Regions from separate parts of the Homo sapiens genome. Here all the other regions are linked to region 2. Evidence: promoter capture Hi-C in 16 types of primary human blood cells and fetal thymus (Javierre and others, 2016). All regions are on one chromosome and are shown on one strand. Each heading gives the region's core, a stretch centred on a gene start or on the middle of the fragment in contact. The rest is flanking DNA. Distances are from core to core; before and after follow the strand shown.

Region 1 (2,700 bases), core at 1-2,500, 460 kb before region 2:
CAGTGTCCACAGCTGGCCCTCACACCAGCCGGAACCTACTGAGGAGGGGCAACTAGCCTGGCATGGACCTTGCACCTGGACAAACACACTTTTGACAATTTACCAAACTCCCAAAATACACCAGGAACAAAACACAGGGGCCCTGAAACTTCCAGCCCCTGGGTCTGTGCCACCCTCTCACGATACCTTCAGGAGCTCGTTGAGGTCTGAGATTTCCAAGAGAGTGAGGCTGGCGATGTCCTGGACCAGCTGCTGTATCTTGGGGGGGTACTCCTTGGGGGCGTTATCCAGGGGTGCACCAGCGAGGGCCTCACACCTCTGATGGCCGCTGCTCCTCATATGTCGCACGGCACAGACACATGGCACCTGTCGCCTAGCCCCCACCCCCAATTAAAACAGACTTGTCAGTCCTGGAATGGAAGGGGCTGCAGAAACCAGAGGGGCAGGACAACTGGGGGACTGGTGGGTGCCATAAGCTCAGGCTGGTAATCACTAGGGCCGGAAATTACCTAGCTCCTTGGTCCCAGTCCAGGGTTCTCAGACCTCAAGGGGTCCGTATTGATAAGATTTGCAAGTTACTTTAAATTCTTCAAAGAGCCTTAGAAAGCCACGTGTTTATTTGCAGCCATACCACTCAAACCTCAAGTTTCTGGTTTGAATGAACTACATCAACCCAGCGGTGGCGAAACTATTACTTAGGTGCATCTTCCTGCGCAAAGCCTCCCAAAACATGGGGGCCCCTGGCCGCAAAACGCCGCACCCACGGATGGGCCTTTGCTGCGGAAAAGGCTGAGGCCAAGGGAGGAGCAGGGAATCGTCCAAGGTCATCTGGGGCCGACCCCGGCGCTTTCCACGGCCCAGGAGGGAAGGGGCGTGCGCACCGGGAGGCCTCCTCCCCGCGCCCCCGATGGGACCCCCAAGCCCGGCCTGGCCGCTGCAGGGAGGCCGGCCCCGCCGCCCTCCTCGCCCGGATCGACCCCTCAGTGCCCGGCTGCCCCCTAACCCGCCTGCCGGCCCGGACCGCCCCAGGATCCCGCGTACCTGGCAAGGCGGAACGCAGCGGCCCGAAGCCCAAGGCAAGGCCCCCACAGGGGGCGAGCGGCCGCCGGCAGCATCGGTCCGCGGGCTGGAAGGTCACACGCGGTTCCCCGGGAGGAGGCGACGCTCTAGCCGCCTCGGCCGCCGGGCATTCGAGCTGGGGAGGAACGCTCTAGCCGCCACGGCTGCCGGGCATTCGAGCCGGAAATGACGCTCTAGCCGTACCTCGCGCTAGCCTCGTCTCACCCTGAGATTACCCACAAGGCGGCGCGCTGCGCAGACGCAAAAGCGTCGTCTGTGGCGGCAGCTAGACATCGGGCGACCCTCGTCCCGCCAGGTTTTGGGGTCGCGCAAACGAGCGACGGGGGCTGGGGCTCCGGATTCAGGTGTTCTTTCTTCAGCGCTCACGGGTTTCTGTCCGTACGCGATGCGAGCGAACGTCGCGGTCGAGGCTAGGGCCCCGAAGCCCGCAGTAATCCACGTCTCCCGCCCGCTCCGGGCCCCCAGTGCCGCCGTCGCGGGCGGAGGCGCGAGGTCTGGGCTTTGGCGCCTTCGCAGCCGCAGGCGACATCCTCTTTCCTAGCTAAAGCCCCAAACGCCCAGGTGGCTTCCTGGGAGAGCACGGCTGAGCCTCCGCCTTCAGATCAGAACAGGCAGAGCCTCCAAGGGCGGCTTGGGCCCAGTGCCTGCTTATCCTGCCCGTCTCTCCACACTTCTTCTTTCCCTGTCCGTTGGAGTCCATTCCTTCCTGGAAAAGCCAAAGCCGCGCTCCCCTAAGAGGCCTGGATGTGAAGGTGAGTGAGACGCCCTGGCCTCTGGGTGCAAAGGCCGGCGCCTGCCGCTTTCAACACTCAGGAGGCGCGTTTCAGCCCCGCTGGCCCCCGGCCGCAGACTCGGAGCGCTGAGCTCCCACCGTTCCCATCACCCGACTCCCTTCCCAGGAATGAGGAGCACCCGGGAAGCTTCAGCCACTACACGAAGGAGGCGCCAAGCCCAAACTCCTCCCCAGCTACCGGCGGGGTCAGTGCAGAGCCGCGGAGGGCACACATGAACCCTGGCACGCAGCCTCAGGGAGGGGCAGGCTGGAAATGACCCTGCCTGCAGCTGGGCCATCAGCCTGACCACCTGCCCCCTGAGCAAACGTTGATGCAGGTCGGGCGCGGTGGCTCATGCCTGTAATCCCAGCACTTTAGGAGCCCGAGGCAGGTGGATCACCTGAGGTTAGGCGTTCACGACCAGCCTGGCCAACATGGTGAAACACCGTCGCTACTAAAAATACAAAAACTAGCCAGGCATGGTAATGGGGTGCACCTGTAGTCCAGCTACTCGGGAGGCTGAGGCCCGAGAATCGCTTGAACCCAGGAGGCGGAGCTTGCAGTGAGCGGAGATCACCACTCCAGCCTGGGTGACAGAGTGAGACTCCATCTCAAAAAAATTAATTAAAGAAAAAACGCTGATGCTTTCTGAAATACATTTTATTATCGCTGTACCATTCTGGGGCACTGGAGATGGCAGCTGAGAAGCAGAGAAGCTGGAGACCTGAAGCCTCCACCCTTGGCTGTGGCTGCCGAGAGAGGCCCCTGCAGAGGGAGCCCCAGGCCACACCCAGACACCACAGCCAGCTCACAGTGCGGCCAGAGGGCACAGGCTGCTTGGGGGGTG
Region 2 (2,700 bases), core at 58-2,557:
ACCCCTGGATCCAAGGCTGCTGGGGCCGGGTAGGGATGAAGGCCGTGGAACTCTTGTTCAAATACCCTTTCTCTGGTCCAAATCTCCGGATTAACAGCTCCCAGTAAACAGAGTCAGCACTGGCATCAAGGCCTACCCAGATACACTGAGGTGGTACCCGGTGCGGCTGACACTTAGGGAACCAGCCTCAGAATGACTTAAAGCCCCACGGGCAAGAAGCCCTATCGTGCCAGTTGTGAGGGTGGCTGGGGGTTCCCCGCAGGACACGTGCTGAAGGAATCCACCACTGCAGGTGCACAGGGGCTGCAAGTGCCAGGGAGGTGAAGACCCGGAAGGTGCTGGGCACTTTCCGGGAGTCCTGTGTTGGGTCAATCCTGGCATGACACCCCCCGGCGGCAGTGCTAACACGAAAGCTTACGCGTTTTACAAGGCGCTTTTTTGCACACATCTCCCATCCTTTCTGAGGTTGGTGCCAGTCCCGCTTTACAAACATGCAGGGACAAGCCCAGGACGGCCGAGGTTTCGCGGGCTCGTCGATGGCTCGGTGATTTTGTCAGCCGGCGTCTAAAGCACGCGGCAGGCGCTCAAACCTTGAACCAACGGGAAAGCAAAGGAAAGCCGGGGCCCGCTGGCTCTTGGAGGGGAAGGGCTGGGAAGGGGGGAAGGGGCCCGCGCCCACCTACCGCAGCGGCGAAGCAGCTCCGCAGGGCCTCGAACTCCCGCGCGCAGAAGTCCTTACTCAGGCGGCCGCCCGGGGCCGTGGAGGCCTGCACGCACCTGCCGTACGCCGCGGCCTGCGGAAAGGACGGGCGTGGGTCGTGGGGTCCCCTGACCCCGTCACCGTCCTCCCTCCCAGCCACCTCCCCGCGCGGCTCCTCCTGCCCCGCAGCACTGGCCCGCCCGCGGCTCCTCACCTCGGCCCCGCAGGCGGCCAGCCGCTCGGGGAAGGCGCGGAGGCGGCTTCGCACGCGGCCCCACACCGCTCCGTTAGCCGACATGAGCGGCTATTCCCAGCCCCCTGGAGGCCGCCATCTTAGGTCCGTCCTCTTCCGGTGTCAAACAGCTTGATAGGTCGGCGCTTCCGCCCATAACCTTTCCTGAACTTCTTAATTGGCCAGGCTTTGCCTGGCCTCGAGCCCCCGCAATTGGCTCTTGTCCTAGTCTGTCTGTGCTCTGGGACTTCGGATTGGCCTAGGCTCCAATTGTTTACGAAGCCAACCTCAGGGCCCGCCCTACCGTGAGGGATTGGCCGGCGGACCCAGACCCGCGCAGTGATTGGAGGGCCCGGGCCTGGCGGAAGCGGGGCAGACCGGGAGGGGACCTGGATCATGGCTGCCGCGCCGCCGCTACGGGACCGCCTGAGCTTTCTACACCGGGTGAGTGAGGGCGGTCCGCCCGGGCCCCGGTCCCACGGCTCCTCTCGAGCGCCGCATTCCCCGGACTCGCCCCGGGCCGGAGCCATTGACCTTGCGTCTCCGCGCCGGGTAGCTGCTCCTGGCCCCTTCGCCCGCGCCGACGCCCCTGAGCTGCCCGCCCGCCGCGCCGTCCCGGGGCCTTCCAAGCCGGGCCTTCCAAGCCGGACCCGCCGAGCGCAAGGGCGATGGGCACAGCCAGACCCTGGGGGAACGAACAGGCCTCGGCCAGCATTCAGTGGCCTCCGACGGGAGGGAAGGAGCGGCGGACCCGGTGGACGTGGAGCCGCTGTGTCCGTGCTGCTGGCGCCCAGGTGGGCTGGCAGCCCGCCGTCCTCCCTGACGGTGGCGTTTCAGAGGACTCCGGTCCTGGAGAGGCACCCCTGGGTTGCAGAGAACACAGACGTCTCGAAGGGACAGAGAAGGACGCACCATTGTAAGCCCCTCTTAGTAAACCCTCTGAGAAGTAGAGGCCGGGGCGAGTTCCCAGGTGTCGTCCTGAGCAAACTGCCCTCTTTTGTCAGCCCTGAGCTTTCCTGGGCTGGACCTCAGAGGGGGCTGGGTGGTCCCAGGGCGCGACCTTGGGCTGCCAGAAGCCACGCTAGGGTTGGTCAAGGCTCTCAGTGCAAGGTTTCGACATAGTCGTTCTGTGCTGCGTTCTGCAGTTGTCAGCTGTCACCTGCAAACCTCAGCAGCTCCCCTTAGGGCGTGGTGGGCAAACAGTGTCAGTGATGCGTGTCCACAGCCTCGGGAAACACTTCAGGTCCACGTTTTCGTATGTTGTCACTAGATCTCGGCCCTTCCGACCGAAAGGCTTCGGCACCTCACGCGGTGGGTCCCATGCTTGTCCTGTTAAATACTCTTGAACTCTATTCTGTCCTGATACTGAATAATGCAAGAATGGGTGGTTCCAGTTTTCATCCCTATAAACCGTACATCTTTGTGCCAGTAAGTAAGCATGAAACAAATAAGTACGTCTGCGCTAAGCGAACGTAAAACACACGACATCAGTCGGTTCTCGGGGAGCGATGGAGCTAGTCACGCTGAGCGGCTGTCACTCTGCCATTCCGGCCTCTGGGGAGGTGGAACGATTCATAGTCCCCTGTGTGGAAAAGGGGCTTGCCTGGGCCTTGTTTGGCTTTGCTAGTCAGTAGGTAGGTACAGGAGAGGTACCTTCAAATAGCCTTACATGCTGGTAAGTGCAGGGAGGCTGGGGGCTGTGTCCCTTCTTAACCCAAGTGGCGCAGCTCCTCCGTGGAGAACCACCATTGATTTGCCTCTTCTCCGA
Region 3 (2,866 bases), core at 126-2,625, 370 kb before region 2:
GAGACAGGGTTTCACTGTATTGAATAATTTTTGAGGTTTAACTCCTGGACTCAAGAGATCCGCCTGCCTCACCTCCCATAGTGCTGGGATTACAGGCATGAGCCACCGTGCCTGACTGGTTTTTTTCTTAAGTAATGTTTATTGTTTTTATTTTTAAATAGAATAGCAGATTATTATTATTATTATTTATTTTTTTTTTTTGAGATGGAGTTTTGCTCTGTCGCCCAGGCTGGAGTGCAGTGGCGCCATCTCAGCTCACTGCGAGCTCCACCTCCCGGGTTCACGCCATTCTCCTGCCTCAGCCTCCCGAGTAACTGAGACTACAGGCGCCCGCCACCACGCCTGGCTCTGGCTAATTTTTTGTATTTTTATAAAATACAAAAAAAATAGAGACGGGATTTCATCATGTTGGTCAGGATGGTCTTGATCTCCTGACCTCATGATCCGCCCGCCTTGGCCTCCCAAAGTGCTGGGATTACAGGCGTGAGCCACTGCGCCCAGCCCAGATGTTTATTTTTTAAGATACAAGGGGTCTCACTCTGTCACCCAGGCTGGACTTGAACTCCTGGGCTTAAGCGATCCTCTAGCCTCGGCCTCCTGAGTATCTGGGACCACAGGCATGCACCATCACACCCTATTGGTTTGTTTTTTAAAGAACTAGGTAAAAGATATTTATGAATGGTTTGTGTTAGAAAAACAAGTGATTTCTTTTTGATGGCATGTTTTCATCAGCCCACTCTTGTTAACTCTACAGAAGTACAGGCATGTGGACAATATCATGTTTGAGAATCACACCGTCGCTGACCGCTTTCTTGACTTCTGGAGAAAGACAGGGAACCAGCATTTTGGGTACTTATACGGACGGTACACGGAGCACAAAGACATTCCCCTTGGCATCAGGGCTGAAGTGGCTGCGATTTATGAGCCACCTCAGGTAAACATGACGGGATTCAAGTTCCTGAGTTTCTGTGTTTGGAGGCTGTGGGGGACGCCCTTTCGGAGAGGCCTTGCCCTGTTCGCTTTGTTGTTTGTTCCCCCTTTGTCACACACCGGTGCACGTGCACAACATTTTCTGAGTTATTGGAGAGTGAGATCATGGCTCCTAAAACCTTCAGTGTATGTTACTAAGGATAAGGATATTTTCTTACACAACCGGTACATTTGCCACTATTGATCCAGTGTTTTTATCTCGTCTGCTGTGTCCAGGTTTGCTCATTGACTCTGTAGTGTCCAGGTGCTCAGTCCTTGTGTCATTCTGTGTCTCTTCCACCATGCAGCAGTCACTGTCTTAGGAACCATGGAGAAGGCCACAGACACACCTCAGCACCAATCACCAGAGTGTCACCAGAGTAACAAAAACTGCCACCAAAATAGGACTGATAACAATTTAAGATTTGTTTGGAGGGGAAAGAAGTGTCCTGAGGGTATATCCCGCAGGGTGTGTGCACATCTAGTCACTGTGCTTGGAAGTCATTGGAAGGCCCTCTCGGTATGATTATGCCACCAACTAGTTACACATTGTATTTCTGGTTTTTGGGAATTGGGCTGTGTGTGTATATTTATATAAATTTCAATTTGTTTTGTAATTATGTATAATGATGTAGTGTATTTTACATACATTTTATTGCAAAAGTAAAAAAGTAAGCAAATATTGAATGCTAGTTAATGATATGCATGCTGTACTATTTAGGGAGAAGTACATTTATGTCTGTAATACACTTGAAATCCAATAGAAAAATAAAATGAATTGATGGGTGACTAGAGGGACAGATAGTGCATAGGAAATGTTCATGGTGAATCTAGTGGTGGGTATATGAGTATTCACTGTAAAATTCTTTAAATTAGCTGTATGTTAGAAATTTTTAATTTTTATTTATTTATTTTTTAGAGATGAGTCTTGCTCTGTTGCCCAGACTGGAGTGCAGTTGTGCAGTCATAGCTTACTGCATCCTTGACCTCCTGGGCTCAAGCGATCCTCCTGCCTCAGCCTTCTGAGTAGCTGGGACTACAGGTGCATGCCACCATGCCAAGCTAGTTTTTAAATTTTTGGTAGAGTCAGGGTCTCGCTATATTGCCCAGGTTGGTCTTGAACTACTGGCCTCAAGTGACCCTCACATCTTGGCCTCCTGAAGTGTTGAGATTACAGGTAGGAGCCACTGTGCCCAGCCAGAAATATTTTTAAAAGTTAGAAAAGAAAAAAAAAGTGCACATTTCCAAAGTCATGTTTACAAACAAGGTATATTCATTTCCTTTTACCCTGCTTTCCTTTATAGGTAGCCCCTAGAATTTAAAACCTTTTTCTTTTTGAGACAGCGTCTCACTCTGTTGCTCAGGCTGGAGTGCAGTACTGCCATCATGGCTCAATGCAGCCTCAATTGCAGCCCTCTTGGGCTCAAGCAATCCTCCTGCCTCAGCCTCCCAAGTGTCTGGGACTACAGGCGTGCACCACCATGTCTGACTTTTATATGTGTGTGTGTGTGTGTGTGTGTGTGTGTGTGTGTATTTGTGTATATATATGTGTGTATATATATGTGTGTGTATATATATATGTGTGTGTGTATATATACATATATATGTATGTATGTGTATATACATATATAGTGTGTGTGGAGACAGATCTCGCCATGTTACCCAGGCTTGTCTGGAACTCCTGGGCTCACACAGTTCACTCGCCTCAGCCTACCAAAATTCTGGGATTACAAGCATAAGCCACCATGCTCAGCCTAAATCTTTTTAGTTGGACTTCCTGAAGTTTGATTTTTTTTTTTTTTTTTAATTTTGAGACGGAGTTTTACTCTGTCACCCAGGCTGGAGTGCAGTGGCATGATCTCCACTCACTTCAACCTCCGCCTTCCGGGTTCAAGTG
Region 4 (2,749 bases), core at 240-2,739, 290 kb before region 2:
TGCGCTCCAGCCTGGGTGACAGAGCGAGACTCTGTCTCAAAAAATAAATAAATAAATGAAGTCCAGAAAATGGGGTGGAGAAAAAGAAGGGGAGATATGGACCCCCCACAGCCTCCTGCCCACATGCCCCTCATGGCACCAGGCCAGGCTGTGGGCCTCCTGCCCCTGCTGGGCACTGCCCATCGCCTGGCCCACACCTCTCCAGTCTCAGACTCCGCAGCTGCCCAGGGCTTGGCTGAGACATTCTCCAGCTATGCTGAGAAAGGCCAGGAACCCTTGCCTCTGACCCTGAAGCCACCACCCCTCAGTGGGGGTCGCCTGGGCATGGCCCGAGGCCCACCCACCTACACCCTGAGTGGCCACACATGTCCCACATGGACCCCCAGCCCAGAACAGACATGTGAACGCACAGACACGATACCACTCCCCGTGAGACCCCCACGGCCTCCTCCCTGAAGCAGGGGGGTCCCAGCACCCCTCAGGAGGTCGCCACCTGTGCCCTCCCTACCTTGCCGCACAGAGACGTAGCGGTGGTTGGCAGCCACCAGCACCACCTGTGGGTGACTCTCCTCCAGATCAAAGAGCTCATCCTTGCCAGGTCGCGTGTTTCGGCCGGCCTTGAGGGTGCCTGCGGGCCCCACGGGTGCCAGGTAGTGGCCGTCGCAGTCCTTGAAGGCCAGCTTGCCCGCCTTGAACTCCAGCGTGTAGCAGGCACGGGGCTCAGGCTCCCAGACCAGACGGCCGTCGCTGCGCAGGTAGCGGCTGTCACAGGACTTGAGGCAGTACCGTCGGCTCCGGAAGATGAGGGTGAGGAGGGCGTCCACGCCCCAGGGCTTGTCTCCGTCTGCGGCCATCTCGTCCTCCCGCGGGCACAGGTGCACGTAGCGCCGCCGGCTCACGCTCAGCAGGTGGGCCTGCGGGTGGATGGCCAGGTGCACGGTCCACAGCTCGGCCGGGGAAACGGCTGTGGCGAAGCAGGACAGCTGGTCCTCGGTGCCTCCGAAGAAGCGGCCGTGCGGCTCGGACCGCAGCACCCAGCGCCCATCTGGCTGCGGCAGGACCAGGAAGCGGCAGTCACGGCCCGGCTGCTCTGCCTCACAGGCCACGCGCCCGTCCTCTTCTGCCGACAGGTAGCGGCCCAGGTGGCTGCTGCGGAGCAGCACAGCCGTGCCTTGTCCTGGGTCGGGTTCCAGCACCCAGGTCTGCTTCCTCTTGAGGCTGGGTGCCGAGGCATTGACCTTGAAGCCGAAGCTCTCAGCTGTCAGGTAGCGGTCAGTGTCGTTGACGAGGCCAAACTGGATCTTCAGCACCTGGTGCAGGCCGTTCGTCGGCATCTTCAGGCTGGCCGGGTCCCCGGAGGGGCCTGGGATGCGCCCTCTGAGTGCTCACGGCCCCCGCGGTCCCCCAGAAGCCCGGGTCGGCTCGGCTGGCCCACAGCCCCCAGACCCAGCCGGCGTCACGAACCCCCTGCCTGCTCTGACCCGCCTCTGACCCGCGGCAGCAGCCTGGGCAGCTCTTAGAGGGCCCGCGGGCAGCAGAGGGCGGGCGGGGAGGGCGGATCAGAGACGTGCGGCTTAGGAGCAGCACCTTTCATTACCCTCAGCTTGGATTTCAGCCACTCCCGGATTGCACAGAGCCCAGAGCCCGAGGGCCTGAGGGCCTACGGGGCTGGAGGGCAGGGTTGATCCCCTTTTCCTCATAGCGTGGGCCCAGCGCCCCTCTTCACGGCCCTGCACCTTTTGGCCTCTCTCGTTCCTGCCCCCCTCCTCCAACCCCGTGTGGGCTCCCGGCCCGGCCCGGCCCAGCCCTTCCGGATGTAGAAGCCGTCCAGTGGAACGCTCACGGCTCGGCCGCAACCTGATCGCCGCCCGTACCCTCGGTGGCCGCCAGGCCCTCAGCTGGATCCAGTTACTGCTTCTCTGATTCCTGCTGCCAGAAGCATAGCAAGGACCCCAGCCACAACCTGCAGCCCAGGTCGCCTCCACCCCAGACCGGCCTCTGGCCACACTGCTCAGGCCCCAGAATGACGCACTGGACTGCCACCCACGCTGGAGGGTGGAACACAGTGGCCGTGCAGCCCTGCAGGCAGGGGGCAGAGTCAGAGGCCCTGGGCCAGGCTGGCCCGGCCCCAGCGCACTCCTGTGCGCTCTGAGCAAGTTGCTGGGCCCTGAGGCTGCCCCCTCCTCTGCTGTGAGCTGGAGTGAAGCCAGCCTCACTTCACTTTGGAGTCTTTACGGATGTGGATCCAGGAGGCTGGTGGGACGATGTCCACCCCATGCTCCCAGCGGTGGCCCTTGGAATCTGGGAGAGGATGAAGGCCAGCAGGCCGGGAGAGACTGGAAGTGGTCACACCTGTCTACAGCACCTCCTTGCTCTGGGCCACCTGGCTGTACCCCTTCCCCAGAGCCTGAGGGGCACTGGGCCCTGCTCACCGTGCCTGGCTCCTGCACCTGCCTCAGGGGCTTGGGGCCAAGTAGTGAAACCAGAGCTGGCCACCCTGGGCCAGGGCCAGCCCGGTGTCCTCTTCCTCATAACAGCGTGTGACCCTCCCGTCTCCCTGGGGACTGGGAACAGGGGCCACAGGCCCCTTCCGGTCATGGCCTGGAGTCACTCCCCTGTCCTCCTGGGCCCATCTCCTGAGTGGCCATCATGGGGGTCCCCGTAGGGCAGGAGTCTAGCCAAAAGCAAGGGGCCTGGGCTGGGCACCTGTGGGCTCCAGAGGTGGGCAGGGCCATGGTGGCAGAGTGTG

Evidence for each region. Contacts are between HindIII fragments. The CHiCAGO score rates a contact against its expected background, and 5 or more counts as called.
Region 1: a contact is called between the fragment with the promoter of MRPL12 here and the fragment with the promoter of TEPSIN in region 2, in 1 of 17 cell types (non-activated CD4 T cells). The highest score is 5.4, in non-activated CD4 T cells.
Region 3: a contact is called between a fragment that was not itself captured here and the fragment with the promoter of TEPSIN in region 2, in 1 of 17 cell types (monocytes). The highest score is 5.7, in monocytes.
Region 4: the fragment with the promoter of FSCN2 here is called in contact with the fragment with the promoter of TEPSIN in region 2 in 1 of 17 cell types (endothelial precursors); the score reaches 6.4 in endothelial precursors.

The regions. Positions count from the first base shown.
Region 1 is chr17:81,701,917-81,704,616 of GRCh38, reverse strand. It overlaps MRPL12 (mitochondrial ribosomal protein L12), which reads right to left and starts at 1,250. Exons shown (of 5, transcript NM_002949.4): 1 at 1,042-1,250; 2 at 187-373. The coding sequence starts at 1,115. HGS (hepatocyte growth factor-regulated tyrosine kinase substrate) reads right to left here. Exons shown (of 22, transcript NM_004712.5): 22 at 2,496-2,700. RefSeq lists a silencer at 883-1,262 and enhancers at 1,163-1,766, 1,753-1,822, 1,767-2,370. The HindIII fragment of the contact is 11,363 bases long and covers 1-2,002 here.
Region 2 is chr17:81,237,662-81,240,361 of GRCh38, reverse strand. It overlaps TEPSIN (TEPSIN adaptor related protein complex 4 accessory protein), which reads left to right and starts at 1,307. Exons shown (of 13, transcript NM_001363764.2): 1 at 1,307-1,376. The coding sequence starts at 1,329. It overlaps NDUFAF8 (NADH:ubiquinone oxidoreductase complex assembly factor 8), which reads right to left and starts at 1,044. Exons shown (of 3, transcript NM_001086521.2): 1 at 915-1,044; 2 at 684-794. The coding sequence starts at 998. RefSeq lists enhancers at 478-557, 938-1,157, 1,401-1,983 and silencers at 818-967, 1,210-1,425, 1,528-1,617. The HindIII fragment of the contact is 7,335 bases long and covers 416-2,700 here.
Region 3 is chr17:81,602,616-81,605,481 of GRCh38, reverse strand. It overlaps NPLOC4 (NPL4 homolog, ubiquitin recognition factor), which reads left to right. Exons shown (of 17, transcript NM_017921.4): 8 at 755-934. Among named protein-coding and RNA genes, the nearest start is that of NPLOC4, 33 kb to the left of the region's middle. The HindIII fragment of the contact is 5,992 bases long and covers 1-2,866 here.
Region 4 is chr17:81,527,117-81,529,865 of GRCh38, reverse strand. It overlaps FSCN2 (fascin actin-bundling protein 2, retinal), which reads right to left and starts at 1,489. Exons shown (of 5, transcript NM_012418.4): 1 at 509-1,489. The coding sequence starts at 1,334. RefSeq lists enhancers at 515-1,040, 1,041-1,567. The HindIII fragment of the contact is 29,205 bases long and covers 1-2,749 here.